Linked DNA regions of Homo sapiens: region 1 is linked to region 2. Evidence: promoter capture Hi-C in 16 types of primary human blood cells and fetal thymus (Javierre and others, 2016). All regions are on one chromosome and are shown on one strand. Each heading gives the region's core, a stretch centred on a gene start or on the middle of the fragment in contact. The rest is flanking DNA. Distances are from core to core; before and after follow the strand shown.

Region 1 (2,700 bases), core at 51-2,550, 610 kb after region 2:
CCATTGCAGATCCCTACATCCCACCCCAAGAGCTGCAGAGTGTCCTGCTGAGATCGCTGTGTGTCAGCATCTGCAGAAACTACCTTCTCCTCCAACCTGACTGTCCTGACCTGAAGGACAGCCTGCCCAAGGACTTCTAGTACACCAGGCTCTCCACTGGGCCCTTGAACTGGTGGTAAGGATTCCAGCAGGCCCTATGCAAGCCCCTATGCAAGCCCCTGAGACCCCTCTCCTAAAGTCGCTTCTAATGCCACTAGACTTGTTAAAGTTAGGCCTGGTCACCCTCCCATCCTATCCTGGAGTCTTCCATTCCCCAACACCCAGGGGTCGGGCTTATTTGTACCCCTGAAGGCCACCCTAGAACTTCCCACCCCTTGGGGAGACTCCCCCATTATGTCCTATTTGAATGTGGGGCCACCTTTGGTATAGCCAGGTCTTAAACTACTGGGAGCCCCCAGTTATTCGATAACTACAAGCATTTTGCTGAAAACTAACTTGTGTGCAACACCGAGCCTCAAAGGCCAAAGGGAGGAAATAATTGGGTGAGACTGATAGAATGTGTGGGAGAAAGCACTTTAACTGGAAAGAGATGGACAGAGCGGGGGAAGAAGGGAGTATGACCCCCTCTCCAGGAGGGGAAATGGGCCCTGTCTTGGGCTCTGGGTGCAGCACTTGGGCCACCAGCCCACCCATCCCCTCCCCCAGCTGCTCTTGTCAGATGTGTGAACTGGTTACCCGCTGCCTCCCTCCCCTGATCAAATATCTTTGCTCACTAGGCAGGGGGTGGTTCAGTGGGTGCAGGCTGGGCTGAGACTGCTCCTTCCCTCCCTCGTGCAGATGGTTGATGGGACTCCCCTAGTCTGCTCCCAAGCTAGAAGCTGCAGAATGTGATGACCTGGGGTCCCTGCTCGGAGCCTGGCCTCCCGGGAGTCTACACACCTGTGAATCCCTTCATTTCCTGGATCCAAGATAATGTCTCCAACGTCTCCTTTGACACCTCTGCCAACAGATGCTGTTGGGGCTGGCCCAGGACAAGACAGAGGCAGTGAGGGTTGTTAGCCTCTGGAGTCCTGGGTTTGAATCCTGACTTAGCTACTTACCTGCCTTTGCCATCTGAATCTGTTTCCTCCTCTGTAAAATGGAGATGTCTTCAATTATTCATTTATCAACAAGTTAGTAGTTACCAAGTGCTTACTCTGTGACAGGCCACTAAGATACAAGACTGTATCTTGACAGATTCGTGGATTTTGGCTAGCAACTCCCCTGAGCGCTGGCTGATTGGGGTGCCAGGCGCCGCCCGCTGCGGGCCTCAGTTTCCCCAGCTTCGAACTAAAGAGCGATGGCTTGGATGTAAGGATTCTTGAGGTCCCTCCCAAGTTTGTTTAATAAACTTTTTCGAGGGCAAGCGTCTCCAAGCCACAGGGGCGCATCCTTTTCACCTGCTTGGACGCTGCTTGGCCCCAGCTGGGGAGGCTCCTCCGAGCACCCGGCATTCCAGAGTTAGCCCCGACAGCTGTGGTCACGTCGCCCGTGCTCTGCAGCGCCTCCCTCCGCGTCCTCGCGGTGGGGCCACAGCGACATCTAGTGGCTGAATGTATTTTAAACACTCGGCTTGCTGAGGGCGTGAGTCGGAGCGCTGCTCCCCAGGACTCAGCTCTCATTCGCCTCTGCGCTTCGGCGGGGACGGGGAGCCGGGCCGAGTCAGAGTGAACACACACTCCCTGCGCGTGCAACTGAGTCGAGCGGTAGGGCTGGCTTTACCCGACAGGTCAACGCTCCCGCCCCAGCTCTCGGTCATACCTGCCCTAAGGAGGGGTGGAGCCTCGGCGTGGATCCCCGCCCCTTGTGCCCCGCCCCCTTATAACGGCGCCCGTTCACTGCGCCTGCGCATGCCACACGCGCACTCGCGTGGCCTTCGCGAAGGTGTCGCTGCCAAGAAACGTGTCCTGCGCGCTACGCCGTCTGTTTCTAGGGCAACGCCGGCGTCTCTTAGCAACCGCGCGCGGCCTAGGTGGGTCCCCCCGGCACCCCCAGACCTGCCATGGCGACCGCGAGTCCTAGCGTCTTTCTACTCATGGTCAACGGGCAGGTGGAGAGCGCCCAGGTGAGCGGCCGTGGACCCCGCCGGGGCCCGCCCCCCAGCGTCCCCCGGGGCCCTTCCCGCAACCCCCCGGGCTGCCCTGTGGCCCCCGGAGAGCCACGTCATTCCTCTGAGCCTCTCGGTTAGGCGGGGGAGGGGAGCCAGCATTGGAGAGCTTGGCGCGAGGTTGCCCGGATCCTGAGTCCCGATGTGCAGGAATAGAAGCAGACCTCGAGATGTTGAGCTAGTACCGAGGTCACACTCGGGCAAGCCTGTGGGCCCTCGCACGGGTCATGCCCACTTGCTTGGATCACTGGCAGGAGCCTCCTGGGGTTAACGCGAGGAGCCGAGGCTTGGCCGAGTTTCCAGCATTTGCGCTGTGTCCCGTGTGGAGTTACTGTCCCGCGTTCTGAATCCCCAGATCCTTGAACTCGGGTTCGAATCCAACCATCCAACAATGGTGGTGGCCTGGAATTGACCCAAGGAAGGTGTGCCTGCTAGGCCCGAGGGACGCTATTCCCCATCCCCCTACACTTTAGAGGAATCATTTATTGTAAATATAAACCAACGCTCACCAAGTCCTCAATATGTCCCAAAGTCGGTGCTCCGCACTGGTCCAC
Region 2 (2,700 bases), core at 80-2,579:
GCCCCTTCCTTATTTGGAAATGTTATTGCTTCCTTAAACCTTTCGGTAAGCAACTTCCTCTCCTTCTTCGTTCTTCCTTGCACTTACCTATTTAGAAAGTTTTAGGCTATTAGCAAATCGGCTATCAGTTTAAGAGTGTGAGGTCCCGCTCCAGCCAATGGATGCAGGACATAGCAGTGAGGACGACCCAAATGCGTAAGGGATAAATATGTTTGCTTTTCCTTTGTTCAGGTGTGCTCTCGACATCGTTCCATCTGCGATTGAGCACCCTTTCTGCAGAAAGTAAAGATTGCCTTGCTGGAGATCTTTTGTCTCCGTGCTGACTTTTCTTCGTGGCACCGATTATCTATTTCTAACAATTTTGGTATTTCTAACATTCTGAACAATCTTGGGCTAGTTGTCTCTTCTGGGCCTGTTTCCCCATCCGTCACATGATAAACTTCATTGGTTTAAAAACCCCAGCGAACATTTATTGAGTTACTATTACCTTCCTGCCCTCCCCAACCCCAACCCCAGGGAGCAGTTACAACCTCAGCCGCTGAGCGCACTCGCCGGGTGTTAAGAAGCACCAAAGACAGGGAGGCTTGATTGATTTTGCTTTGGGAGTAGAGGGTCAGAAGATTCACAGGAAAATGGCATTTGAGCAAGGATGATTCACTGGAGCTAGCTTTTAAATACTGGCGAGGCTTTTATGTTGCAGTCCCTTACAAAGTTGAGCATTCGCAGGGACTGCACTCCGAAATAAGCCCGCTTCCCCTTTTCATTCGCTAATGATCCAGGGAGCTGCTGGTTCCGCATGCGGCAGGTTGTGCCTTTTCCTAATCAGGGTTCTGCATCGCCTCGAACCCGCAGGCCGTGGCGGGTTCTCCTGAGGAAGCAGGGACTGGGGTGCAGGGTGAAGCTGCTCGTGCCGGCCAGCGCCTGTGAGCAAAACTCAAACGGAGGAGCAGGAGGGGTCGAGCTGGAGCGTGGCAGGGTTGACCCTGCCTTTTAGAAGGGCACAATTTGAAGGGTACCCAGGGGCCGGAAGCCGGGGACCTAAGGCCCGCCCCGTTCCAGCTGCTGGGAGGGCTCCCGCCCCAGGGAGTTAGTTTTGCAGAGACTGGGTCTGCAGCGCTCCACCGGGGGCCGGCGACAGACGCCACAAAACAGCTGCAGGAACGGTGGCTCGCTCCAGGCACCCAGGGCCCGGGAAAGAGGCGCGGGTAGCACGCGCGGGTCACGTGGGCGATGCGGGCGTGCGCCCCTGCACCCGCGGGAGGGGGATGGGGAAAAGGGGCGGGGCCGGCGCTTGACCTCCCGTGAAGCCTAGCGCGGGGAAGGACCGGAACTCCGGGCGGGCGGCTTGTTGATAATATGGCGGCTGGAGCTGCCTGGGCATCCCGAGGAGGCGGTGGGGCCCACTCCCGGAAGAAGGGTCCCTTTTCGCGCTAGTGCAGCGGCCCCTCTGGACCCGGAAGTCCGGGCCGGTTGCTGAATGAGGGGAGCCGGGCCCTCCCCGCGCCAGTCCCCCCGCACCCTCCGTCCCGACCCGGGCCCCGCCATGTCCTTCTTCCGGCGGAAAGGTAGCTGAGGGGGCGCCGGCGGGGAGTCAGGCCGGGCCTCAGGGGCGGCGGTGGGGCAGGTGGGCCTGCGAGGGCTTTCCCCAAGGCGGCAGCAAGGCCTTCAGCGAGCCTCGACCTCGGCGCAGATGCCCCCTGAGTGCCTTGCTCTGCTCCGGGACTCTTCTGGGAGGGAGAAGGTGGCCTTCTTGCGCGAGGTCAGAGGAGTATTGTCGCGCTGGTTCAGAAGCGATTGCTAAAGCCCATAGAAGTTCCTGCCTGTTTGGTTAAGAACAGTTCTTAGGTGGGGGTTAGTTTTTTTGTGTTTCTTTGAGGACCGTGGATCAAGATCAAGGAAATCTCTTTAGAACCTTATTATGGAAGTCTGAAGTTTCCAAATGTTGAGGGTTTTATGTCTAAAAGCAACACGTGAAAAAATTGTTTTCTTCACCCAGTGCTGTCTTCCAATTTCCTCTTTGGGGGGAGGGGTAGTTACTGCTGTTACTAAAATAAAATTACTTATTGCTAAAGTTCCCCAACAGGAAGACCACTACTTTTGATGACTTTGGCAAGTTTGCTAACTACTGGAACCCTAACTTACAAACGAACTACTTACATTTTTGATTTCCAGTTGTATTACCTGCCCAATGTTTACGTAGAAACAGCTTAATTTTGATTCTGGGTAACGTTGTTGCACTTCATTAAAAATACATATCCGAAGTGAGCAAGTATGGGTCTGTGGACAGCAGTGATTTTTCCTGTCAATTCCTGTTGCTTCAGATAAAATGTACCAGACAGAGGCCGGGCGCGGTGGCTCACGCCTGTAATCCCAGCACTTTGGGAGGCTTGGCGGGTGGATCACCTGAGATCGGGAGTTCAAGACCAGCCTGACCAACATGGAGAAACCCCGTGTCTACTAAAAATACAAAATTAGCCAGGGTGGTGGCGCATGCCTGTAATGCCAGCTACTTGGGAGGCTGAAGCAGGAGAATCGCTTGAACCTGGGAGGCGGAGGTTGCGGTGAGCCGAGATAGCACCATTGCACTCCAGCCTGGGCAAAAAGAGCGAAACTCCGTCTCAAAAAAAAAGTACCAGACAGAAATGGGTTTTGTTTTCTTTTTTTGTTTTGAGACGGAGTTTCGCTCTTGTTGCCCAGGCT

Evidence for each region. Contacts are between HindIII fragments. The CHiCAGO score rates a contact against its expected background, and 5 or more counts as called.
Region 1: a fragment that was not itself captured here is called in contact with the fragment with the promoter of AKAP10 in region 2 in 1 of 17 cell types (naive CD4 T cells); the score reaches 5.0 in naive CD4 T cells.

Annotation. Positions count from the first base shown.
Region 1 is chr17:19,361,911-19,364,610 of GRCh38, reverse strand. It overlaps B9D1 (B9 domain containing 1), which reads left to right and starts at 1,888. Exons shown (of 7, transcript NM_015681.6): 1 at 1,888-2,104. The coding sequence starts at 2,042. It overlaps LOC105371573 (a long non-coding RNA gene), which reads right to left and starts at 1,834. Exons shown (of 3, transcript XR_934302.4): 1 at 1,440-1,834; 2 at 1,101-1,131. RefSeq lists enhancers at 1,419-1,488, 1,045-1,829, 2,289-2,428 and a silencer at 1,979-2,248. The HindIII fragment of the contact is 3,031 bases long and covers 1-2,700 here.
Region 2 is chr17:19,976,457-19,979,156 of GRCh38, reverse strand. It overlaps AKAP10 (A-kinase anchoring protein 10), which reads left to right and starts at 1,329. Exons shown (of 15, transcript NM_007202.4): 1 at 1,329-1,565. The coding sequence starts at 1,478. RefSeq lists an enhancer at 246-959 and a silencer at 1,432-1,621. The HindIII fragment of the contact is 5,200 bases long and covers 1-2,700 here.